2 separate regions of the Homo sapiens genome follow, and region 2 is linked to region 1. Evidence: promoter capture Hi-C in human tissues and cell types (Jung and others, 2019). All regions are on one chromosome and are shown on one strand. Each heading gives the region's core, a stretch centred on a gene start or on the middle of the fragment in contact. The rest is flanking DNA. Distances are from core to core; before and after follow the strand shown.

Region 1 (5,949 bases), core at 1,668-4,167:
CAACAATGCATTTCTCAGAATGTATCCTTTTTTTTTTTGAGACCGAGTCTCACTCTGTCGCCCAGGCTGGAGTGCAGTGGTGCAATCTTGGCTCACTGCAACCTCTGCCTCCTGGGTTCAAGCGATTCTCCTGCCTCAGCCTCCCGAGTAGCTGGGACTACAGGCGCGCACCACCATGCCCGGCTAATTTTTGCATTTTTAGTATAGACGGGGTTTACACCATGTTGCCCAGGCTGGTCTCAAACCCCTCAGCCTCCCAAAGTGCTGGGATTTCAGGCGTGAACCACCGCACCCGGCCAGAATATATCCTTATTATTTATTTATTTATTTTTTTTTAATTGATCATTCTTGGGTGTTTCTTGCAGAGGGGGATTTGGCAGGGTCATAGGACGATAGTGGAGGGAATGTCAGCAGATAAACAAGTGAACAAAGGTCTCTGGTTTTCCTAGGCAGAGGACCCTGCGGCCTTCGGCAGTGTTTGTGTCCCTGGGTACTTAAGATTAGGGAGTGGTGATGACTCTTAACGAGCATGCTGCCTTCAAGCATCTGTTTAACAAAGCACATCTTGCACCGCCCTTAATCCATTTAACCCTGAGTGGACACAGCACATGTTTCAGAGAGCACAGGGTTGGGGGTAAGGTCACAGATCAACAGGATCCCAAGGCAGAAGAATTTTTCTTAGTACAGAACAAAATGAAAAGACTCCCATATCTACGTCTTTCTACACAGACACGGCAACCATCCGATTTCTCAATCTTTTCCCCACCTTTCCCGCCTTTCTATTCCACAACACCGCCATTGTCATCATGGCCCGTTCTCAATGAGCTGTTGGGTACACCTCCCAGATGGGGTCGTGGCCAGGCAGAGGGGCTCCTCACTTCCCAGTAGGGGCGGCCGGGCAGAGGCGCCCCTCACCTCCCGGACGGAGAGGCTGGCCGGGCGGGGGGCTGACCCCCCCCCACCTCCCTCCCGGACGGGGCGGCTGGCCGGGCAGAGGGGCTCCTCAATTCCCAGTAGGGGTGGCCAGGCAGAGGCGCCCCTCGCCTCCCGGACGGGGCGGCTGGCCGGGCGGGGGACTGACCCCCCCACCTCCCTCCCGAACGGGGCGGCTGGCCGGGCGGGGGGCTGACCCCCCCACCTCCCTCCCGGACGGGGCGGCTGGCCTGGCGGGGGTGACCCCCACCTCCCTCCCGGATGGGGTGGCTGCCGGGCGGAGACGCTCCTCACTTCCCAGACGGGGTGGCTGCCGGACGGAGGGGCTCCTCACTTCTCAGACGGGGCGGCTGCCGGGCGGAGGGGCTCCTCACTTCTCAGACGGGGCGGTTGCCAGGCAGAGGGTCTCACTTCTCAGACGGGGCGGCCGGGCAGAGACGCTCCTCACCTCCCAGACGGGGTCGCGGCCAGGCAGAGGCGTTCCTCACATCCCAGACGGGGCGGCGGGGCAGAGGCGCTCCCCACATCCCAGACGATGGGCGGCCTGGCAGAGACGCTCCTCACTTTCCAGACTGGGCAGCCAGGCAGAGGGGCTCCTCACATCCCAGACGATGGGCGGCCAGGCAGAGAAGCTCCTCACTTCCCAGATGGGGTGGCGGCGGGGCAGAGGCTGCAATCTCGGCTCTTTGGGGGGCCAAAGCAGGCGGCTGGGAGGAGGTTGTAGCGAGCCGAGATCACGCCACTGCACTCCAGCCTGGGCACCATTGAGCACTGAGTGAACAAGACTCCGTCTGCAATCCCGGCACCTCGGGAGGCCGAGGCTGGCGGACCACTCGCGGTTAGGAGCTGGAGACCAGCCCGGCCAACACAGCGAAACCCTGTGTTTGGTGGAGACCAAAAAAATACGAAAACCAGTCAGGCGTGGCGGCGCGCGCCTGCAATCGCAGGCACTCGGCAGGCTGAGGCAGGAGAATCAGGCAGGGAGGTTGCAGTGAGCCGAGAGGGCAGCAGTACAGTCCAGCTTTGGCTCGGCATCAGAGGGAGACCGTGGAAAGAGAGGGAGAGGGAGACCGTGGGGAGAGCATATATCCTTATTATTAAACTATGCATGACTGTGTATACAATACCTTTATAGGTCAAAAGCAGTCAAATACTGGCCATGAGATACACTTAGTCCAAGTACACAAATAATTGCAGAAGGAGAAAGTGAAACTCCTCTTACTTCCTGCCCCACTCATTTATCACAAAGCACACAGAAGTCAGAATAACACCTGCCCTTTGCAATTTCAGACTCCTCTCTTTCTGCCTCTCCAAACCTGTCCCACGTTTGGCGATTCCTTTCCCTTCGACCTCCCCCCATCAGGTCGCAGGTTCCTGGTCTACACCCCTTCTGCGTCCCCAACCACTTCTGAGTCTCACAACCTCTGGTCCCATAACCCCTCTGCACTAAGGAGCAATAAACAAAATTCACGCCCGAACAAAGAGGCCAAAACAGCAACCCAGGATGTTTGCGCCTGCGCACTCTGGGCGCACAGTACTCAGGCCGGCAGCCCAGCACCGGCTTATCTGTGAGAGCAATTAAGATGACTTTCGGAGGGTCCAACCGCCTTCCCAGCTCCGAACTACATCTCCCAGAAGGCTCAGTTGTGCGATTATCTTTCCATGCAGACTTGTCCTCTTTCTGAGGCTGTCCAGCGCCTGGGGGCAGTAGGACGGGTCCGGGAACTAAGCCCATCTCAAACACGTCGGAGTGGCTTTCTTTGGGGGCCAAGGCCCGAGCCTGAGGCGGGACTCCATGAGGCCTCTGGGGCGCGAGCGGTTTGACTAGGGGGGGCGATCCTTTCGGCGGGGCTGACGCAAGGCGCGGACAGGAATTCTGACGATCGGGAACCATCTTGTCCGGCCTTGATACGTCTCTGACTACGCTTCCCAGAGGTCTCCTCGGCAAGACTGTACTTCTCGCGGTAATTCAGCTTCCAACTCACGCGCTGGCGGGACCCTCAGGGCTTTACCAGCAACTACCCCAGTGCCGGGGAGGGTTCTGCTGCTTCGAAAGCTGGTAAGGCCTGAGGTGAGAAACCCGGGAGAGGGCGGGGCCGGGGGCCAAGCCTCGGCTTTGTGCGGCGGTGGAGGTGAGATTGAAAGCGTGCGCTTGCGTCTGTGTGGAGGTGTGTGGTGAATGATCGCGCGATTGTGACAGGCTGCCCTTGTGATGAGTGTGTTTCCAACGCTCACACCGTGTGCAGCACGGCCTCGGAGACTGTGGCTGCTGGTGTGTGTGTGAGAGGGAGCAGGACCACGTGCGGCATTGTGTGTGCGGCTGTGGGGAGCTTGTGCCTGGTTGAGTGTTACTGCGTTTGTCCCCGTAGTGGTGTGCGACTATATGCTGTGTGACTGTGTGCGGCAGAGTTCAGGTGGGGATACCTGCGAGTAACTGCATGTTTCTATCTGTGTGTGTGGCTGTGGTTAATGTGTGATCGTGACTGTGACCCGGTACAGGTGTGCGCCGACTGTGACAATGTGGTTGTGACTGTGACTGCCTCCTCGGTAAGCGTGCACTTGTGCTTATGTGACCGATAGAGGCCCTGCGTGTGCGACCCTGTTGCTTTGGGCGTGGATTGTCTGTAGCTGAATGTCCCCATGGTGGGAGTGTGATCAGGTTTGTGTGGCAGGGTAAGTCACACAGTGTGAGGTTTTATCACTTACGTATACTTCTCTAGGCATTATACTCCAGTTTTTCCCCGTTTTAAAACTTTATATGAATGTTGTCATACTGTCTTTGGTTTATTTTTACAATTCTGTGAATCATCCCTATTAGATAAAATCGCGGTTAATTCAATTTCTTTGCTATATTCTCCCTTCTGAAGTATACCACAATTATTCATCCTTTCTAGTAATGATGCCCTATTAGTTATTTATAGCTTTTCATTTTATAAACAACACAGCCACATTCTTTCACATGGGGTACACATGCTTGAGTTTATTTACCAGCAGAATTGCCGGTTCATATATCTTCCACTTTACTAAACAGTGTCAAAATATATACCCGAGTGGCTGCACAAATTTGTACTTGAACAGCAATGTTTGAAATATCTTATTGCTCCATATCCCTACCAAAGCATAGTTCCAAGAGTTAAAAAAATTTTTGTAGGCCAAGTGTGGAGGCTCATGCGTGTAATCCCAGCACTTTGCCAGGCCAAGGTGAGAGGATCACTTGAGGCCAGGAGCTGGAGACCAGCCTGGGCAACATAGTGAGACCCTAACTCTACCATAAATACATACATACATAAAAAATTAGCCGGGCATGGTGGCTGGCACCTATAAGTCCTAGCTACTCAGGAGGTTGAGATGAGAGGATCGCTTGAGCCCAGTGCTTTGCAGCTGCAGGAAGCCATGATCATACCACTGCCCTTCAGCCTGGGCAACAGAGCAGGAGGCTGTCAATAGATACATAGAGCCTATATAAAGTGTGCAAATCTTAAGTGTACAGCTGTGTAACACTCTTAGATCTATACAAAGAACTTTGCCAGGACCTGAGATGCTTCCCTCATACCACTTCTCAGTAATTTCTCCCCCACACAATCTATTCAGAATTCTATCATTAACTAGTTTTACCCATTCTTTTTTTTTTTTTTTTTTTTTTTTTTGAGACAGAGTCTTGCTCTTGTCACCCAGGCTGGAGTGCAGTGATGCAATCTTGGCTCACTGCAACCTCCGCCTCCTGGGTTCAAACGATTCTCCTGCCTCAGCCTCCTGAGTAGCTGGGATTACAGGCACCCATCACACCCGGCTAATTTTTGTATTTTTAGTAGAGACAGGGTTTCCCCATGTTGGCAAAGCTAGTCCTGACCTCAGGTGATCCGCCCACCTTGGCCTCCCAAAGTGCTGGGATTACAGGCATGAGCCAGTGCATCTGGCTGTCTTACACATTCTTGAACTTCATGTATATATGCAATTATGCAGCATGTACTGTTTTATGCCAGGCTTCTTTTGTTATATATTATGTTTGTGAAATTCATTCATGTTGTTCAGTGTAATTGTACTTAGCTCTCACTATACTGGGGATATATTGTAGTATATTAGTCGATTACATTGTTGATGGATATTTGGGTAGCTTCCAATTTGGGGCTGTTACAAATGATGCTGCAGCTGTGAACACTCTGCTGTGTTTTTGGTGAACACATGAAGGCTTTTCTCCCGGGTTAATACTTAGGAGTGGCATTGCTAGATCATAGGGTAGGCTAATGTTTAATAGATACTACGAAGCTCTCATGTGGTTGTTCCAGTTTACACTCCATCCAGCAATGTATGAGAGTTCCAGTTGCTTCATATCCTCTCCGTAATTTGGTATGGTTAGTCTTTTAACTATTTTATTGGTTGTGTGGTGCAGTTTCATCATAGGTTTTTGTTTTGGTTTGTTTTGTCTTGTTTTGGTTTGTTTTTTTTTTTTTTTTTGAGACGGAGTCTCGCTCTGTGGCCCAGGCGGGAGTGCAGTGGCGCAATCTCGGCTCACTGCAAGCTCCGCCTCCCGGGTTCACGCCATTCTCCTGCCTCAGCCTCCCGAGTAGCTGGGATTACAGGTGCGTGCCACCACACCCAGCTAATTTTTGTATTTTTAGTGGAGACAGAGTTTCACCATGTGAAACTCCCGCCCGCCTCAGCCTCCCAAAATCCTGGGATTATAAGTGTGAGCCACTGCACCCAGCCTCATCATAGTTTTAATTTGTATTTCCTTGATGTGAAATGATGTTCAGCACCTTTTTGTATGTTTACTGGCCATTTGTATATCTTCTTTTTTGTGTCCATTTTCCCCTTCGTAAATTTTTTAAAAATGTTCTTTTCTTTCTTTCTTTCATTTTTTTTTTTTTTTTTTGAGACAGAGTTTCGCTCTTGCTGCCCAGGCTGGAGTGCAATGGCATGATCTCAGCTCACTGCAACCTCCACCTCCCAGGTTCAAGCAATCCTCCTGCCTCAGCCTCCCATGTAGCCAGGATTACAGGCTTGCGCCACCACGGC
Region 2 (5,569 bases), core at 464-2,963, 230 kb after region 1:
ATCCCCAGAGCCCCAAGGCGTGCTGTCGGCGGAAAATGAACTGACACACGAGCCCACTGCCTCCCTCCTTCCTGGGTGGAGCAGTGGCCTGCCTTCATCTCCAAGGCCCGGGGGCTCCGGCATACCGACACTGCTTCCCGCGACACGTGCAAAGACAGACATAGGCGAGTCCGAGATGGAGCCAGTGTGACCACACGTGGCACCGACGTCCCCAAAAGCAGATGGAGTGAGCAGGTGTCTTTGAGGCCGTAGGGGGCGATGGCGAGACGGACAGTGGTGTCCAGCCGTGCGCCCGGGGGCCACGGGAGACCTCCGCAACAAAGCTGAGGAAAAGCCAAGCGCACCTGAAAACCTGCGAGACAGGGCCTGCGCCCGAATCCAAGCCACATTCAGAGATGCCTGCCAGAGGGGCCGAGAGCTTTCCACAAACTACACCCCACCCCCACCCCGCGACCGGGTAGGTACCCCCGACGCGACCTCCCCTGCACCCAGCAAAACCCAGTCCCTTTGGCTCCCTGACATCCGTGGCAGCCAGAAGATTCAGTGCTAGAAGTCTCTTTCCCCAGGAGCAGAGGAACCCGATGGCCCTCAAGAATCAGAGAGGAAGTGCAGGTGGCATGCCACACCGCCTTTCCTAGAAGGCAAATGTCAGGAACGGTCGGGTTGCCTCCCGCTCTTCCTGGACCGACCACGGGGCCACAGAGACCCAGAAAGCTTCCCTGTCCCAGACAGCTATGAAAGCCCAGAGCTCCAGGATCACCACACCTGCCCAATCATGCTGAAAGAGGTTTGGAGAAGGAAACAATCATGACACCGACCCCCAGGAACTTTCTCCCGGATGGACTGGGAAGTCTTCTGGGTTGAAGACATTGAGCCAGACTAACAAGCCCCTAGGCCTCTCAGAAACAGGGCAGACAGAGCAAGAGGGAGGACAGAGCAGAGGCCAGAGCCCAGGCAGGATTGGCGGCAATGCCACCACCACGGCCATCCGGGGAGGAGTGCCAAACGGGTGACTTGGCCACGAAGGCCAGCGTTGGAGCCACAGAGATGTTTGCCCCATCCCGTTGCCGGCTTCCTTTTCCGTCCCTGTATCGAGCTGTGGCTAGATTTCTCAGTGAGGGCACACGCGAGAGGATTGAGAGGAGTGAGGTCGATGGGCACCTCGACCTGCATAAGCAGGTTTATGATGAGCTTTTGTGAGAATTTTTTCCTTTGCTGGGGTGTAGTTGTCTTGATTCTAGCAATGAGGCCGCTCATGATTGGGAGCTGATTTAATCCCCGCCGTGTCTCATGTAGCTCCCCACGTTGCCCACCGGTCACGAACCCAAACTGTAACCGCCTGGAAAACGAATGACACCCGGCCACATGACCCAGACAGAGATGCGAGGAGAGACTCACCAGAAGAAAGGCCAAGGTACAAGAAACCGCCCTTCATTGCCCATGCATCCCAACACACGCACGCACCCGCGCACACACGGACGGAAACTGGTAGAGAGTGATAGACGGAGAATGAAAACAGAAATAAGAGAAAGAGACACAACCCAGACATACTGCAGTGGCACAGTAACATTCATCTCCAGGCAGCCCCTGAAGCCTCTGGGTTCTGCTCTGAGCGACAACGACCCTGGGGTGAGAGAGCAGCCCTTGGGCATACAAGCAGACCTGTCCTGGAGATCGCAAGGGCACGACTTTTGGGGAGACTCACCGGCACACCGTCCACGCAGGCCTGAGCCTGGGATACTGCGCTGCTTCCCAGACGCTCCGCCTGAGGTTTCTTCCTCCTGGTCGAACCTCCGCGAATCCTGGCCTCCGGATACCATCCCGTCGACGCCCCAGTGAGGACTAGACTTAGCCCCGAGCCGATGCGCTGCTACAGAAGGCTCCTCCTTCGCAGAGAGTGAAGAACTCATCTCCAGGCAACGGTGGCGGTCTCTGTGACGTGAGCATCCGCTCGCGATTTGTGTATGCGCCTTGCCAAGGCTGACTGCGCTCTGCTCTGGATCAGGCTGCAGCCCCTGAAAAAAATTGCTGGGGCTGTGTGTGTGAATGGGAGTGTGCATGTATGTCTTTGGACAAACGTCCCCTGTTCTCTGGAGGGCAGTTTCTTGCATGTTGGCCTTTTTGGTGAGCCTCTTTCTCGGTCTCTGCCTGGGTCGTGTAGCCGGTCCTGTGACTGGAACGGGCAGTCATTTTCCTGGCAGTTGCACTTTTGGTTTCTGAAGGCCTTGGCGAGGTTTGGTGCTGTGTCGGACCCGCAGGCGTTCAAGTCACCTGCCCATTCTGAGTGACCTTTTTTCTAAAATCCTCCACCCAGGAGCAGAGGACCCGGATGTCTCTCAAGAATTAGAAAGGAAGTGCAGATTATTGCTAAGCACATGGTAGCTAACACTGGATAGATGAGATGAACATTGGTTTGCTAATTACCCATACTTTCGCCCCAGGGAAGGAGAGCCCAGCACACCATGTGGGGTACAGTGTGTTGCACTCAGGAACACAGTAATCAGGTGGAGGCTATTCCAGGAGGCTTTGTAGTACCAAGAGTATGGGAGGTAACCCCTGGTTCTTGAAGGAGGGTGTGAATGGCCTGTTTGAATAATTCTGCAGGCTGGCTGGAACCTGACGCCCACTACTACGCAGTAAGCAGGTACTGTGCCTGGCCTCTGAAGGAAGTGCTTGGGCTAGGGCACCTTATTCAAAGGAGTACATTGGGGCAGGGAATTTGCAGTTAATCCATTCAGCCCTCCTTGTTTTCCCCCAGTGTCAGGGCACGTATAACATTGAGCCTTAATCTTAGGCCTTAACCTTGACCCCTTGATGCCTTGACATCTCTTGGCAATACTGAGACTTCTAGAATGTAGAAGTTTTACTGGATGGAAGGTCTTGACTGCAAGTTGTCCATGTTTCTGGCTCACTGAAGAAAGAATTAAACAAACTACACGAAGCAACAAAAGATCAAAGCCACGAAAGAAGAAAGAAGCAACGAAACTGCAGATTTATTGAAGCAAAAGTCCACTCTACAGAGCCAGAGTGGGCTAGAGCAAGCGGCTCAGGAGCCCAGATTACAATGTTCTTTAGAGTTATTAAGCTAAAGAATTTGATAACACCCATAAGTGCCTTTTCGAGGTCTTCAATTGGTTACACCCTATGAAGGATTGGCCCGTGGCCAGAGGCTGAACTGGAGACTTCTGTGTTGTCATCACAGGAGTGAGGATGTGGCCTGTGTGCTGCTTAACCTGGCCTAGAACTTGCTGCACCTGCTGTTCTTTTGCTTCCACCTTAACCCTTGGTTATGCTAATTTTCTTTTCCTTTTTGTTTTGAGACGGAGTCTCGCTCTGTCGCCCAGGCTGGAGTGCAGTGGCGGAATCTCAGCTCACTGCAAGCTCCACCTCCTGGGTTCACGCCATTCTCCTGCCTCAGCCTCCTGAGTAGCTGGGACTACAGGCGCCTGCCACCATGCCTGGCTTATTTTTTGTATTTTTAGTTGAGACGGGGTTTTACCCTGTTAGCCAGGATAGTCTGGAACTCCTGACCTCATGATCTGCCTGCCTCGGACTCTGAAAGTGTTGGGATTACAGGCGTGAGCCACTGCGCCTGGCTTGGTTATACTAATTTCCTATTCTCCTGCCTCAGAAGTGCCTCTCTAGGAAGCCAAGCAGGCTCTTACCTGCTTCAGGTGAGCAGGTAACCAGGAGGGAGAGGACCACAGTTGCTATCATGGCTATGATTCGGGTTTGGAAACCTGTGCAGAGCCTTTGGCTCCACTTGGTATGGGATAGCCAAGAGAACAGTTAATGTGGTTTTCGAATCATGATATGTCTTTGAATATTTGTGTAACCTTATGTATTACCATCAGTTTTTATTTGTTAGGTGCAGTTGTTCTTGCTCATATTATTATTATTATTATTTTGAGACAGAGTCTCATTCTGTTGCCAGGCTGGAGTGCAATGCTGCCATATCAGCTCACTGCAACCTCCGACTCTTGCGTTCAAGCGATTCTCCTGACTCAGCCTCCCAAGTAGCTGGGAATACAGGCGTGTACCACCACACCCAGCTAATTTTTGTATTTTTAGTAGAGATGAGGTTTCACCATGTTGGCCAGGATGATCTCTTGACCTCATGATCCACCCACCTCAGCCTTCCAAAGTGCTGGGATTACAGGCGTGAGCCACCGCGCCCAGCCAAAAATTTTTTAAGTAAAATAAAATATGTCAGTATAGGCCAGGTGCAGTGGCTCACATCTGTAATCCCAGCACTTTGGGAGGCTGAGATAGGAGGATCACTTGAGTTCAGGAGTTCAAGACCAGCCTGCACAACACAGCAAGACCCCACCTCTAAAGAAAAAAAAGTGTGTGTGTGTGTGTGTGTGTGTGTGTGTAATATGACATAAACAAGTGTGGGTATATCAGTCATTGTTCACCAGTTACTGATGCTGTATAATACACCACTCCAAACTCAGTAGTATAATACAATGATTTTACTGTGCTCACTGATTCTGTGGGTTAGGAATTCAGACAGCTCACAGAGCAGATAGTTTGCCCCTGCTCCTGATGTCTGTGGCCTCAACCAGGAGGATTCAAAGGCTGGGAATAACCTGATACCTGAGGGCTGCAAACCTATGAAGCCTGCTTTGCACACATGTCTGGTACCTGGGGTGGGAGGACTCAAAGACTTGGACTAGTAGCCTCCCCATGTGACTTGGCTTCCTCATAGCATGGCGGCTCAGAGCACTTGGACCTTCTTAGATAATGGCTCAAGATTTCAAACACTGGAGTTTCAGCTAATGAGGTGAAGGCCACAGTGCCTCTTAAACTGAGCCCTGGGAGTCACACAGCATTGGTTATAAACAATAAACCAATCCAGATTCAAAGGCAGAGGAGTTAGACTCCACCTCTTAAAGTGGGAATGGCAAGATTCTAGAATAACATATGGAACAAGCCTATTATTGCAACCATCTTTGGAAAATACAATCTGCTGCAATCACCTTTGGAAACTAGGAAACCAATGCAGTATTCTGAAATTCGTAATTCTGAAAACTAATGAATATGAATGGAAAGAATCAAGCATTTATCCTCCCTTTCCTACACATGCTATCCCTCTGAGTAATCAGATTGTTGATGTGGGCAGATTTTATTTTTATAAAAGGATTCTAGTAATGGAAATTCCAGTAATGGAAATAAAAGGATTCCAGTAATGGCTGAAAGAGAGACACAATAAGAAAGTGATCAGTTTGCAACTCCTAACAACATAATGAATCTAGGCATTGATCATCAGTGAATGCATGACATTATGCAAAAGGCAATCACTTTACAATGGATAAATCACATTGATGACACTTAAGCCCACTAACAAATCTGATCACAAAATAGTGACAAGCAGATCTTGCCAAAATAACTGAACTTGAATTTGATCAAGTCTCTAGAGCACAGTTTCTCAACTCTGACACTATTTTCACTTTGGACCAGATAATTCTTTGGGATGGGAGGAGGCTGTCCTGTACAGTATAGGATGTTTAGCAGCACCCTGGCCTCTAGCCAATAGGTGCCAGCAATACCATCCTTCCTTCCAGTT

The links. The method cuts DNA at HindIII sites, captures the fragments that hold promoters and counts their contacts. A contact is called where the count stands out against the background at its distance.
Region 2: a contact is called between a fragment that was not itself captured here and the fragment with the promoter of ZNF566 in region 1, in 1 of the 25 tissues and cell types used here (pancreas).

Annotation. Positions count from the first base shown.
Region 1 is chr19:36,486,529-36,492,477 of GRCh38, reverse strand. ZNF566 (zinc finger protein 566) reads left to right here and starts at 2,917. Exons shown (of 5, transcript NM_001145344.1): 1 at 2,917-2,992. It overlaps ZNF566-AS1 (ZNF566 antisense RNA 1), which reads right to left and starts at 2,851. Exons shown (of 1, transcript NR_036504.1): 1 at 1,438-2,851. RefSeq lists enhancers at 2,048-2,933, 2,428-2,987, 3,548-3,627, 2,934-3,821. The HindIII fragment of the contact is 11,175 bases long and covers 1-5,949 here.
Region 2 is chr19:36,251,723-36,257,291 of GRCh38, reverse strand. No RefSeq gene overlaps it. Among named protein-coding and RNA genes, the nearest start is that of CYKILR, 15 kb to the left of the region's middle. The HindIII fragment of the contact is 4,412 bases long and covers 1-3,919 here.